Regions from separate parts of the Homo sapiens genome. Here all the other regions are linked to region 1. The links are contacts of gene promoters, found by promoter capture Hi-C in blood cells and fetal thymus (Javierre and others, 2016). All regions are on one chromosome and are shown on one strand. The core of a region is centred on a gene start or on the middle of the fragment in contact, and the rest is flanking DNA. Distances in the headings are between cores, read along the strand shown.

Region 1 (4,890 bases), core at 1,452-3,951:
GGGTGACGAACATGGGCCATTAAAACTCCTTACCCACAAGTGTGTGTGTGTGTGTGTGTGTGTGTGTGTGTGTATGTGCGCGCGCATGCACATGTGCCCGCTTGTCTCTTTGAGAACCGGAGGGACAAGGAGGGCATCCCAGGTAGGTGTGACTTCTCCCCAGAAATGGAGGGTTTCCTAGGCTGGCTGGGTCTCCTTCACAGCTTTGTCTTCAGTCTCCAATCTGTTTGGCCACAACTTCTTCAGCCCCAGACCCATCCCTTGTTCTTCTGACCTGCCTGAAGCCTGCCCTGGTGGACCAAAGGCCTGATGCAACTTCAGAGAAGATGCTGAGTCAGAAAGAATATGCAGGAGACTGGGAAAGGTTTGCAGGAGGCCTTTAATTGTGAAGAGCGCAATCAGAAAACAGATATGCTGGTCAAGGAGGTGGCCAGCCCGGGAGATGCGCTGGAGCAGGGGAGAGATGCCCCTGCGCCTAGTGGCCTACAGCATTCTGGGCTAGGTGTGGGAGTGGGTGGGCAGTCTCACTGCTTGGAGCGTCCAGCGTCATGGCAGATGCCAAAGTTGGTGTTGGTGATGGAGCCCACGATGGTCTTGTCTCCCTCACAGGTCAGGCCACGCTCACAGGGACACTTGTAGTAAATCCCATAGAGCGTCTGCAGAGACACAGCCAATGGAGTCAAGGCTATGGGGAGATACTTTGGACATCACTTGTCCCCTGCCTGACCTAGAGAACCAGTAGGCCAGCCTGTGTTTTCGGGGAGTGCCTCTCCCACCTGCCTCCCCAGGGGTGCCGTGGGCCCTGGAGACCCCAGCTCTGACCTCTGCTCTGGCTCATTTGCTCTTACTAGCTTGATCTCTCTGGGGAGCCTCTATTTACCCAGCCATGAAATGGGGATAACAAATCCCCACCCCCACCCATCTCACTGGTCACTCGGGAGGGTCAAGAGAGATGATGGGATGGGAAAGTGCTTTGACACCTGTCGACCTCCCTCTCGTCTCCTCAACATTCAGTGTCCAGGCTGACCCCCCTCCCTGATCCCACTCACAAGTGTTCAGGGCCCTACTCCCCATTCTCCCCCACCCACGCCAAGTCCTCAGGCACCCACCTTGACAGAGCACTCGCTGTTCTCGCTGGCCATGGATGTGCAGCGGGCCAGGCCCAGCGCACTTGAATGCTGGCAGCAATTGCTCTTACACTGGGCACTATTCATGCAGAGCTCACCGTTCTCCTGCCAGGAGCAGCCAGTCAGCCCAGGCCCCACTCCCTCAGGTCCCTTCTCCATTCAGACCTGTACCCACCACACACTACCACTAACAGTGTCTCCCCTGGTAGGGATGTGTGTGAAGGAGTCCATCCCCTGGGTCTGGTGGCCTCTGTGCCCCCCACCCACGTGAGAAGTGGGCATGCGGTGACAGAGAAGCAGACTTGCACAGAGGGTCAGGACCCCTGGGTTCTAGTACCGGCTGTGCTACCAACCTCCTGTGTGACTCTGGGCAAGTCACTGCCTCCCAAGCCTCAGTGTTCCCATTTGGAATGTGCACACAAGGCCCCTAGACAAGTTCTCCAAACCACTCTGGGTCCCACACCTCTTTAAGGAGGCGGTGAAGATTGCATCTCCCTGCAAGACTCCTTCCTCCCCCAACAGATCTGATCTATAATCTCCAAGGGTCCTGGACCTCCAAGTCCAGCCATGGCCCCAAGTTAAGAGAGTTCAGAACCTTTCAACCGCATGGACGTTCTGGAAGGGCTTTCCCAGCCAAGACCCATGGTGGAGAGGTGGTGTGGGGCAGTGGTGGGGCCCCAGCTGAACCACTTTCCAGCTATGTGACCTCAGGCAGGTTGCTCACCCTCTCTCTGTCTGAAGACAGGGCTGACTCTGAAAACACCTCCCTCAGTGGTTATTATGAGAACAGAATGAGTAAACATCTCCGAGGCATCTCCATAAGTCAGAAGCTGGAATGATTGGCGCAAAGCATTTTCTCAGGATGGAAGCCCAGGGCTCTGGATTTTTACAAAGCTCCCTCGTAGGGCCAGGTGAGGTGGCTCATGCCTGTAATCCCAGCACTTTGGGAGGCCGAGGTGGGCGGATCACGAGGTCAGGAGTTTGAGACTAGCCTGGGCAACATGGTGAAACCCTATTTCTACTAAAAATACAAAAAATAGCTGAGCGTTATGGCAGGCACCTGTAATCCCAGCTTCTTGGGAGGCTGAGGCAGGAGAATCATTTGAACCCGGGAAGCAGAGATTGCAGTGAGCCGAGATTGTGCCACTACACTCCAGCCTGGTGACAGAGCAAGACTCCGTTTCAAAAAGAAAAAAAAGAAAAAAAAGGTCCCTCATAGCCAGGTTGAGCTGCTGCTCTGAGCATGCTCCAGTTGGAGCTGGAGAGGGGCTGATCAGCCTTTCCTGTGGCCTCTGGGAAGAGGCATAGGACAGGACATGGAAGTAAACAGAGGGATGCAAGATGCCACTCCTCCCAGCCCCTGCCAGTCCAGGTGGAGACATCAGAGGTCAAGGTCCAAGCTTAGGAAGTCTTCATCTGGGGACTCAGGAGGCGCCTCCCCTGAAGACCCTCTTACCAGGTTGATAATGATCCCCCGGGGGCCAGGAGCTGCATAGGCCACAGAGAGGGCGACAAGCAGGAGGATCAGGATCTTCTCCATGGTGAGTGGGACAGCTGGTGTGGGTGGCGGGAGACAGAGCCAGCTGTGGTGATGGGGCTATAAAAGGGGCCCTGACCTCACGAGATCCACCTGCATCCCACAGGGCTGGCCGTGGGCAGAGGCACAGCTGTGGCCAATCTGCTGTGGGGCGGTTCCTGATAAGGAAACTGGGTGAGTACCTGGTGGCCTTTTTCGTGTGTGTGTGTGTGTGTGTGTGTGTGTGTGTGTGTGTGTTGGTGATAATTGTGTTGCATCGTGGTTAAGAGTATGGACTGTGTACAAGTTATTAGTGAGGCAAACTTACTATCTGTTCCAACTATTCTGCCTTTCATCTTATCTGTCAACTAAGGATAATTTAAAGAGTTGTGAGGGTTGAATTAATACACATTTATGTGTTACATATATATAAACATTATTATATACAATTATAAGAATATATTTATATTGTATATTCCCATATGCCACATAAGCAGTGGGTAAGGGTGGCTGCCCTTGTGTCTTGAGCTCCTGGGCAGTGCCTGGACGAATCCAAGGCAAGAGAGGCACCTATGGTGTGAGTGCCTGCTTACATTCTGTGTACTTGGGGCCTCTCTGCCTCACTATAGTCAGGCCTTGCCTTTGGCCCACCCAAGCCCAGGTGTCTAGCAGTGTCAGACTCCAGGGACGAGGATCCTAGCCTCCCACCCCTCAACCTTCCTTCAGTCTCCTCGGGGGATTCCAGGCCATGCCCAGATCCCTGGGGCTGACAGTTCTGCAACCCCCAGCAGGCCAGGGTGTGTGTGCTTTCACTTTGGCACCCTCCCCCTGCCCTCACACCAGGGGCTGCCTGCAGGCCTGACTCAAGGGCCCTTAGGAGGCCCTTCCTAAATGCCTCTCTCCCCTTTCCTTTCTACCTCACTTACTATCTGCAATTCCAGCATCAGATACTCACCCCTTTAGTTAAGGTTTCCACTCACGCTGCCCCCTACCCAAGGCCACGTGCGCGCGTGAGCAGTCGCTAGTCCTGGCTGAGAATGAAGAGGTCTCATGAGCCTCAGATGGAGCAGGGGCCTCAGGAAGCTGGGAAGGGCACAGCTGCCTGAGTTTGCTCAGGCATGGGAACAGAGCAGCTTTTCCTGAAGGACTAGTCATGGCAGCCAGAGGCCCCTGCCCTTCCCCTCTCCATCCCAGGAGGTAGAAGACAGCTCCACTGAGAGGCCCAGGCCTCAAGCACAGCTTTTAATTTAATTTAATTTAATTTTTTGAGACAAGGTCTCACTCTGTCACCTAGGCCGAAGTGCAGTTGTGCCATCTTGGCTCACTGCAGCCTCCACCTCCTGAGATCAAGCAATCTTCCCCCTAAGCCTCCCAGGTCTAAAACTCGTGGGCTCAAGCAATCTTCCCACCTCGGCCTCCTAAAGTGTTGGGATTACAGGTGTGAGCCACTGTGCCCAGCCTCAAGCACAGCTTTGATCCAGACCAAGCTGGCTTCAAAATTCAGCATTTACTGGAGCTACGTGGCCTCAGACACATTATTGAAAGTGAAGCTCCCTGAACCTCACTTTCCTTATTTATCTTAGGGGGATAACGCCTCCTACTTCCTGAGGTCATGATTAAGACAATGCACGTGGAACACCTTCGGAAGTGCCTGGCACATGGTGGGTGCCCAGCCATGTAATATGACCCCCTTCCTCTCACCTTTACATCCCTGGGGTGTGGAATGTAGAGAAATAGCTGGAGGAACAACCAGGAGACTCTCAAAATGAGAAAAACCAATTTGGTTCCAGCGATGCAGAAATACCATTGATGAAAGAACACTATCCCCCCTCTCTTTTATAGAACTCAATGTTTGAAAGCACTTTTTCCTATGAGTTCACTCTGATCCTTCCTTCTCTTTTCTCTACCTGCTCCCCACCCCCAGGACCTCTGTGAGGTGAGCCACAGAGAAGGGAATCACTATTCCCTTCTCACAAGTCAAGATGGAGACTGGCAAAGGAATCAGAGGAGTGATTTCTCTCCATGAAGGGAGCTGTGAAAACCATCAGCCCTGTCCCTAGTTGGTCTCAGCCAAGCTTGCAAAGAAAAAAGGCTGGAGTTTTTTCCATTACAAATGAAGTGTAGCAAAGAGAACTTTGACACTGTATGTGCTTCTAAAAGGAAAGCAAAAATTAAGTACCTGTCAATGAAAAGAGTCAAACTCTGTACAATATTTGAATAGATTTATTCTGAGCCAAATATGAGCAA
Region 2 (4,890 bases), core at 1,305-3,804, 240 kb before region 1:
GCACAATAACTGAAATGAAAAATTCACTAGAGGGGCTCAACAACAGATTTGAGCAGGCAAAGAATGAGTGACCTTGAAGATAGGTTAGCTGAGATGATCTAGTTTGAGGAAGGGGGAAAGGAGAGAATGAAGAAAAAGGAACAGACTAAGATCTGTAGGACATCATCAAACATACCAGCATACACAAAATGGGAGTCCCCAAAGGAGAGAGACAGAGAAAGGTGAGGAAAAAATTTGAAGAAGAAAGTGGCCAAAAGTGTCTCACATTTTATTAAAAACATTAATAGTTTACTTCAAGCAGAATAAACTCAAAGACATTCACACCTAGACACATTATAATCAAATGATTGAAAGTCAAAGCCAAAGAGACTTTTGATGGCTGGTTGCTGTGGCTGATGCCTGTAATCCCAGCACTTTGGGAGCCCAAGTCCAGTGGATCACCTGAGGTCAGGAGTTCTAGACCAGCCTGGGCAATATAGTGAGATCCCATCTCTATTAAAAATACAAAAATTGGCTGGGTGTGGTGGCTCACACCTGTAAATCCAGCACTTTGGGAGGCCAAGGTGGGTGGATCACAAGGTCAGGAGTTCAAGACCAGCCTGGCCAAGATGGTGAAACCCTGTCTCTACTAAAAATACAAAAATTAGCCGGGCGTGGTGGTGGGTACCTGTAACCCCAGCTGCTTGGGAGGCTGAGGCAGGGAATTGCTTGAACCCAGGAGGTGGAGGTTGTAGTGAGCCGAGATCGTGCCACTGCACTCCAGCCTGGGTGACAGAGTGAGACTCCATCTCCAAAAAAAAAAAAAAAAATTATCCATCTCAAAAAAAAAAATTATCCGGGTATGATAGTGGGCGCCTGTAGTCCCAGCTACTTGGGAGGCTGAGGCAGGAGAATTGCTTGAACCTATGAGGTGGAGGTTGCAGTGAGCTAAGATTGCGCCACTGCACTCCAGACTGGACGACAGAGTGAGACTGTCTTAAAAAAAAATCAAAATTTTGAAAGTAGCAAGAAGTAGCAAGAGAGAAACTACTCATTGCAGACAGCCATCCTCAGTAAGATTCACAGGTAATTCCCCATCAGAATCTATGGCAGCCAGAGGGCAGAGGGAAGATGGAGAAATTAAGACATTCCCAGATAAACATATATCGTCTCTACAAAAAAAAAAAAAAAAAAAAAAAAAAAAGCCAGGCATGGTGGTGTACACCTCTAATCCCAGCTACCCAGGAGTCTGAGGCAGGAGGATCACTTGATCCTGGGAGTCTGAGGCTGCAGGATGCTATGATCATGCTGCTGTACCTCAGTCCAGGTGATGGAGTGAGACCCTGCCTCTAAAAAATTTTTTTAAAATAAAGATCTGAGCAGGGGTAGTAGTGTGCACCTGTAGACCCAGCTGCTCCGGACCCTGAGGCAGGAGGATCACTTAGCCCAGGAGTCTGAGGCTGTATGTGCGATGATCATGCCTGTGAATAACCACTGTACTCCAGCCTTAGCGACATAGTGAGACCGTGTCTCTGAGAGAAAAAAAAAAAAAGGAAAAAAAAGAAAAGAAATACTTCAGATCAATAACTTAAGCTTCCATCTTAAGAAACTAGAAAAAGAAGATCAAACTAAACCAGAAGCAAGTAGAGGGAATAAGATCATAAAAATTAGAGTACAGATAAATAAAATAGAGAATAGAAAAACAATAGAGTAAATCAGTGAAACCAAGAATTGGGTTTTTAAAAGATTAACAAAATTGACAATGCAAAGCTACTCTTCTCCCATCACACAGTCTGATTTCTGCAAATACGGTATTTCAGTTATCTGTTGCTGTATGACAAATCACCCCAAAACGTAGTGGCTTAAGACAGCAGCAACCATTTAAATAAAAATTCTGTATTTTAGGCAGGCTCTGTGGGTATGACTCAACTCTGCCTCCACATGGTGGTGGCTGGAATTGCATGCATCCAGAAGCTCAACTGGGCTGTAACTTCCAAGATGTTCCACTCACAGCTGGTAGCTGGTGCTGTTAGCTGAGGCTACAGTTCTGGGCTTTTCCTTGTTCTATCTTGGGCTTCCTTACAGCATGGCAACTGCATTCCAAGAAGGAGTGTTTCAAGTATTGAGAGTGGAAGCTGCCGATGTCCTGGAGACCAACCTTGAAAGTCACACAACATCACTTCTGACACCTTCTATTGGTCAAAGCGTGACACAGCCTGTCCAAATTCAAGGGGAGGGGAAACAGACTCCACTTCTTCATGGGAGGAGTGGCAAAGAAATTGCAGCCATCTTTATTCCATCACATATGGCTTGCCTGCATGATTCCTCAATTGGCCGCTTTTGCTTTGTTCCTTGGGAGCAAAGCAGACCCAGGGGTGTTCTTGCAGCTGCTGTTGATCTGCTCCAGTTGCTGCAAAAAGATTTTATTTATTTACTTATTTATTTGAGATGGAGTTTCGCTCTTGTTGCCCAAGCTGGAGTGCAATGGCGCAATCTTAGCTCACTGCAATCTCTGCCTTCTGGGTTCAAGCAATTCTCCTGCCTCAGCCTCCCGAGTAGCTGAGGTTACAGGCATGCGCCACCATGCCTGGCTAGTTTTGTATTTTTAATACAGACGGGGTTTCTCCATGTTGGTCAGGCTGGTCTCGAACTCCCAACCTCAGGTGATCCACCCACCTGGGCCTCCCAAAGTGTTGGGATTACAGGCGTGAGCCAACGTGCCCAGCCAAGATTTTATTTTTATACACTAGGGTGTGCCCCTCGCCCTCAAGGCATGCACTTTGCTGCTTCTCACATTTGGGTGTGTGTAGGGGGATGGGAAACCAGGCAGAGAGGTCATGGGCACAGACTCTGGGGCCAGATGGCCCGGGTTTGAATTCTGCCCGTGTCACCTGCTTACTGTGTGACTGTGCGCAGTCACGTCATCTTTCTGAGCCTCAGCGTCATTGCAAATGCTGTGCAAGTGTTTGCTTCTGCAGTTGCTACTGCTCTATCTGCAGCCACAGGCACCCTCTGTGATCTTCCTCCTGTCCCTCTGCTGGATCCCTGCTGCCTTCAGCACTCTGGCCTATTTTAGTACTCAGGATCTCGGGTAGCTCCTAGGTTTACTGGAAATGGATTTTATGTTTCTGTATCTCATTCTCCATGTTGCTTCTCATGATTTTTGAGAGGAGGGAGGAAAATGCTAATTTTATTCTACCATACACAAACCAGAAGTCCAAAAAAAACAATTTTTTTCTTTTTTTGAGACAGGGTCTTGCTCTGTCGCCCAAGCTGGAGTGCAGTGGTATGCTCTGGGCTCACTGTAACCTCTGCCTCCCAAGTTCAAGCGATTCTTGTGCCTCAGCCTCCGAAGTAGCTGGGATTACAAGCACAGGCCACCATACCGGGCTATTTTTGTATTTTTAGCAGAGACGGGGTTTCATCATGTTGGCCAGGCTGGTCTTGAACTCCTGACCTCAGGTGATCCACCCACCTCAGCCTCCCAAGGTGTTGGGATTACAGGCGTGAGCCACTGTGCCTGACCCAACAAAAACAATTTTGAAGAGGAACAAGAATAAGCTTTCACCACCAGCTATCATGATTAAAACTATGGTCTTGGCACATGGATAGCTGTGTGTCTTTGTCCCTCTTTATCCATCCTAATGGAACAGAATTGGCAGCCTAGAAAGAAATCCAACGGGTGCAGGAGTTTGGCTCTGACAGAGGTGGCATAACAAACCATGAAGGAAAGAATGGACTAAGCGGTACGTGGTGCTGAAAAAGCTAATATTAGATCCTTACCTTCCACCATACAAAGTACATTCTAGACTAAATACCTACACAGTGTCCGTTTAAATATAGAGGCCCTGGCCGGGTGCAGTGGCTCACACCTATAATCCCAGCACTTTGGGAAGCCGAGGCGGGCGAATCACTTGAGGTCAGGAGTTTGAGACCAGCCTGGTCAACATGGTGAAACCCTGTCTCTACTACAGATACAAAAATTAGCCAGGTGTGGTGGCACACACCTGTAATCCCAGCTACTTGGGAGGCTGAGGCAGAAGAATTGCTTGAACCCAGGAAGCAGAGGTTGCAGTAAGCTGAGATCACACCATTGCACTCCAGCCTGGGCAACAGGCTCCATCTCAAAATAAATAAGTAAAAATAAATAAAAAATAAAAATGGTGGGCCTAACATACACTCTTCTCCCCATGGAAGCCCCTTTCCTCTGAAAAGACAGTAAAGGAATTTAAGAAGTATCAAGCCAAAAGGACAAAGGGAATGAACAGGACAGGAGAGAGCAGCACACAGCGCTGGCAGAATTTTAGAAGCTGGAAAGGGGATGGCTGGAGGGTGACAGAGTCAGCAGCAGGGAGAAGGTGGCACCAAGTATGCAGAGGACCTGGCCAGCCAAAAGGAAGTGGGTTTGTAACGCAGAGCCTGCGCAAGGCAGTAGGTGCTTCTGAAGGGGGGTGTTCAGCATGGGGCTGAAAGAGAGGAGAAGCTGAAAGTCTTCCAGAGACCACTCCCATTACATGCAGCCAGGCAGCTGCCCCTCCCTGCTCCAAGCGGAACACTGGCCTCTTCTCTGGCAAGGCTGTGCCATATACATGTTCAACTTGGTGACCTTGGCAACCCCAGACTCAGCTGAGGATGGAGGGAGGTAACAGCCTGGAAAGAGCATGGGTGAGTGGATGCTGACTTCCAGGAAAATTCCTCTCTGGGGAAATGGACCAGCTCAAGAGGAAAAAGCCACAGAGACTTCCATTCTGGGGCTTCCCAATAACCTTTCTTTTCTTTTTTCTTTTTTTATTAATAGAGACAGGTTCTCGCTGTGTTGCCTAGACTGGCCTTGAACTCCTGGGCTCAAGCGATCCCCCTGCCTTTGCCTCCTAAAGTGCTGGGATCACAGGTGTGAGCCACCTTGCCCAG
Region 3 (4,890 bases), core at 1,368-3,867, 220 kb before region 1:
AGAACTAGAGTAACTAGAATTAGTCATTGCATCCCCAAATACTCATCAACTGTTTATTCTTACCACTTATTTCCCTAGTCAGAAGCTTTAAGGAGATAACTTTAAGCCAAGAACAATGCCTACAATAAGGAGTTATCTTATGAAAACACATTATCCCAGAGCAGACCCAGGCTGGAAATATTTAATACCTCAAGAAAGGCTTAGATACAGACCGGACCCGGTGGCTCACGCCTGTAATCCCAGCATTTTGGGAGGCTGACGCAAGTTGATCACCTGAGGTCAGGAGCTCGAGACCAGCCTGGCCAACATGGTGAAACCCCATCTCTACTAAAAATACAAAAAATTAGCTGGGTGTGGTGGCAGACACCTGTAATCCCAGCTACTCAGGAGGCTGAGGCAGGAGAATCACTTGAATACTGGAGGCAGAGGTTGCAGTGAGCCGAGATTGTGCCACTGCACTCCAGCCTGGGCAACAAGAACAAAACTCCCTCTCAAAAACAAAAACAAAAAAGAAAGCCTTAGCCACATGTTGTATTTGCAATGTGTCAACTAAGCCAAGTTGGAAACACATGTCCCAGAATTCCTTCCCTGCTTAGTTCTGGGTTAGCAAGGACCAATGACCTTGTGGAGATTTGAGAGGTGGAAACAATGTAGCAGCCACATTTTTTTTTCTAATTTTAGAGACAAGGTCTCACTCTGTTGCCCAGGCTGGAGTGCAGTGGCGTGATCATAGCTCACTGAAGCCTACGACTCATGGCTTCAAGTATCCTCTCACCTCAGCCTCTCAAGTAGCTGGGACTATAGGCATGCACCACCATGTGTAGCTAATTAATTTGTGTGTGTGTGTGTGGTAGTGATGGGGTCTCACTATGTTGCCCAGGCTGGTCTTGAACTCCTGGCCTCAAGCAATCCTCCTGCCTCAGCCTCTCAAAGTGCTGGGATTACAGGTGTGAGCCACCATCCCTGGCCCCTAAAGTGTATTTTAAAAAGATGCCTCTGCTTAACACGTTGGCAAGCTTCCCACCATAGATTTATTCCAAAGTAGACTATGAGGCCCATGGCTCTGCTGCCATTTCAGTTCCACCGAATGTGGGAATTCTAAGGAAGTACCAACATCTCCTTCCATACACCAAGAGCATCACTCATCATACTAGAAAAAGACCTATTTTAAAATGGTGCAAGGGCATCAGGTGACCTGACGGCCATGGGCAGGCTGCATCACCATTCTGGGTCCTCCCCATATTCTTGATTCTCCAAGGTTCCCTCATCTTTAGAAGACAAAGAATCCCTGCCTTATAAACTGTGCTTTAATTTTTCTAACTATAGGCTGCAGTTACCCAAACAAGATGCTGTCAAAAATCTTAAGAGTTGTATTTAACGCTGTCTCTTTCTTGCCGTGTATTATTAAGGTCACACGTGGAGATTCTGGGCAATTACAGATAGTGCCTTCTCCTCCCACAGAAATCTCCATGTCAGACATGTAGTAGAGAAAAATCTGAAGGGAAGTACTGAAGGTCTACCAAAACTTTTCAAGCCATCAGAGAATGTCCTTTTATGTACTTTCGTCAGTCACTGTCATTCAGATGCATAAGTAGCCAGCTGATGGAAAAAATACACAGCTGGGTTGGGGAATTCTGAGTTTCAGGATTTTGACTAACTGGCTCAAATTCAATGCGTTTTGTCACCAATACTGGAGATAGTCTCCAGCCCCAGAGAATACAGGCTTCACATGTACCATACTAAAAGTGGAGTTCAGTGTGCTGCTAAGGCCAAGTAAGTATAGACAAAGCCCTTCACTGGCAGTCCTCGTTTTGGAGGTTGTGCAAGCTGCCTCTGAATTTCTGAGATCACACATTTACAGCCAGGAATCTTCTCTGGCTCATCCTCAAGATCCCTAGGGTGATCATTATTTTCTTACAAAAAAAAAGCACGCAAATAAAGGGAATTTATTATGGTTGAGATAGGGTCTTGCTCTGTCACCCAGGCTGGAGTGCAGTGGCATGATCATGGCTCACTGCAGCCTCAACCTCCCAGGGCTCAAGTGATCCTCCCACCTCAGCCTGTAACTGGGCCTAAAGGTGCATACCATCATGTCTGTCTAATTTTTGTACTTTTTGTAGAGACAGGGTCTTGCCATGTTGCCCAGGCTGGTCTCGAACTCCTGGGCTCAAGCAACCTGCCCACCTCGGCCTCCCAAAGTGCTGGGGTTATAAGCATAAGCAACCGCACCTAGCTAGGAATTTATTTCATTACCAAATAATTTAACAGGGAGGAGGGAGAAATATAATTCAAATCCAGAGATGAAGCCAAGAATTCAGAGGGAATAAAGGGTGCCTAGAACCTGCATCAACCTGTCTGTAGACCTCAGAGGTCCTACTAAGTACCTTCCAGCACTGTGCCACCTTCTTTTGCAGTGTGAAAATGAGGATTTGCAGTATATGTGACATCTCCTTAGGCCTTGAGAGTCTGTGATGATGAGTATTGATGATATATGCTACTTAAGAAAGAAAATGCATGCTCAATATGGACCACCACCTTAGATAGCCTTACTTATGTTTCATATATTTATTAAAGGGCACAATTAAATTTTATTTTGCAAGTCGAGCCTACCTTAAAATCAGCTTAAAAAGGTGAAATATCCGCTGGCTAATGAAAAAACAAAACCTTTTTATTTTTCCCATTACTTGGTTCTTTTTAGCAACGATGCATTGTTCTGCCACTTTCACCCCAATGTTGGTTTCAGGTTCACCTTAGAGCAAAGTGTAGGATGATACTGTCCATTGCCGATTTTCTGATTTTTTTTTTTTTTTTTTTTTTTTGAGACCAAGTCTCACTGTCACCCAGGCCAGAGTGCAGTGGCACAATCTTGGCTCACTGCAACTTCCACTTCCCAGGTTCAAGTGATTCTCCTGCCTCAGCCTCCTGAGTAGCTGGGATTACAGGTGTGCACCACCACACCTGGCTAATTTTTGTATTTTTAGTAGAGACAGGGTTTTACCACATTGGCCAGGCTGGTCTCAAACTCCTGACCTCAGGTGATGCACCTGCCTTGGCCTCCCAAAGTGCTGGGATTACAGGCATGAGCCACTACGCCTGACCTCTCTGATGTCTAATTTCTTCAAGTTGGCCCCCACCATGGTTTTTTAACCAATATAGCTTTCCCTGAAAATCACTTAAGCAAAACCAAAAACAATGGGAAGTCACATTTTTTTTGGATTTATTTAAAGAACACACAAAAAAGTGCATCTAAATGATTTTTTTTTTTTAAAAACAATGTCTTTAATTCCTCATATGCTGACTTGGCAATCCATATGCAGCCTAAAAGGTGGTTGAAAGATGTCTGTGGACTTCTACACAAATTGTTTAAGATTATTGAATTTGATACAAGAATACGTGAAGTGTCTTCTTGAGTGGTAATGGGCACCCTGTAGTTATTTGCTCAGAACCACTCACACACCCTTCCCCTCCCCACACACACTTTTGCCAGTTCCCCCTGGTGAACCATAATACACACGTGGGAGACAGCTGGCATCATCTGAGTCTTGGAATAGCTTTCTTGTTTGTTATCTGCAAAAAGCTAGGTGGCCTTTTTAGTATCAAATTTCAATCTTGGCCTCACTGGAACCATGCTCTACAGAGCTTTCCCAACAGTTTAGCAAGTAAGCAAAATCAGCTTTTGCTCTTCATATTTCGTAGGTGAGACTGGGGCTTTTAAAAGAAATATTTCATAAAAAAGACAAAAGCATAAATGAGAAATTAGAGGGATTTTAGTTATCATTAAAGGAAAAAACTCACAAATTGATCCCATTTGTTCCATGGGGAAGAAAAGTATTATAAAAGGAAATAACTTGATTTTTAGGTTTGAAGGGGGTCCCAATCTAATAATAAAAGTCTTTTGATAAAACCATCATAAAAATAAAAACTAATTTAAAATATAACTGCCAGTGTTTTTTAGGATTTAAAAAGGTGAGATGTTCCAGGTTTAAGCAAATGGTTCCTTGGGTTGCCAAATGCATTCCCATGAGTGTTTCTTAGGCTGAGGGAATAGAGAGCCATGCTCAATCTGTTTACCCGTAAGGACTGAAATTCAACTACATGTACACATTTAAGACTTGCCCTAGTTCAATGGTCAGCTCAAGTACTGGAGATTTAGGCTACTGGCTGTGTACCGGCATGGGAAGCTGTCTTCAACTCTTTCACAACTCACGCCAGAACAGAGAAGCTTGACAGGGCAGGAAAAGCGAGCAACTGCGTGTCAAACCTGCAGGTGAAACCCCTAGTGTAGAAGAGCAACTATTTATTTGTCAACCCTACAGATTTTGTTTTTAAAAATTAAGCTTAGTACTAAAAAGTCAAAATTTTTTTGCATGATAGAGGAGTGTAAATAAAGTTCCATAAACCAGTATACATATGCTTATGAGCCAATAATCTTAAAAAGACAAAAAAAGCTGCATGGATCCTAAATGACTATGTAAATAGATCCACTCCAGGTCAAAAATATTGTAAGCACAAGTCTTAAATTCTTAATAGCAAGGATTAGAATGAAAGAAGAAGCTGAGCAGTAGCAATGCTGGGAGGAAGTACTGTGTATTGAATATTATTCCCTAAAAGGAATAGAGGAGGGGAGAAAAAGCACAATTCTGATTGCTCTTTTCACATTTCAGTATCTCAGAACTTCATCGAAAATAGGAAAAGCTAATCCAGAAACTCTCATCTGCTCATTATCATTGCTGAAGGGTGTTTTAGGAATGACAGAATTACTCCCCCAGGGACAGGCTGTGTGTGGTAGAAAGCCACTCTCACAAGGAGGCTGGCTGAGGAGGGGGACTTTGGGAGGAGGCTAAGTCAGCAAGCAAGTGGCCTCTGAGGTTCTGGCTTTCACGTCTGTGA

What was found. Contacts are between HindIII fragments. The CHiCAGO score rates a contact against its expected background, and 5 or more counts as called.
Region 2: a contact is called between a fragment that was not itself captured here and the fragment with the promoter of CLPS in region 1, in 1 of 17 cell types (endothelial precursors). The highest score is 6.1, in endothelial precursors.
Region 3: a contact is called between a fragment that was not itself captured here and the fragment with the promoter of CLPS in region 1, in 1 of 17 cell types (M1 macrophages). The highest score is 5.2, in M1 macrophages.

Annotation. Positions count from the first base shown.
Region 1 is chr6:35,794,622-35,799,511 of GRCh38, forward strand. It overlaps CLPS (colipase), which reads right to left and starts at 2,702. Exons shown (of 3, transcript NM_001832.4): 1 at 2,584-2,702; 2 at 1,110-1,232; 3 at 361-656. The coding sequence starts at 2,667. The coding sequence ends at 525. The HindIII fragment of the contact is 2,191 bases long and covers 2,526-4,716 here.
Region 2 is chr6:35,550,559-35,555,448 of GRCh38, forward strand. No RefSeq gene overlaps it. Among named protein-coding and RNA genes, the nearest start is that of LINC03135, 9.4 kb to the left of the region's middle. The HindIII fragment of the contact is 1,968 bases long and covers 1,571-3,538 here.
Region 3 is chr6:35,570,390-35,575,279 of GRCh38, forward strand. FKBP5 (FKBP prolyl isomerase 5) reads right to left here. Exons shown (of 11, transcript NM_004117.4): 11 at 3,201-4,890. Among named protein-coding and RNA genes, the nearest start is that of LINC03135, 29 kb to the left of the region's middle. The HindIII fragment of the contact is 3,206 bases long and covers 1,015-4,220 here.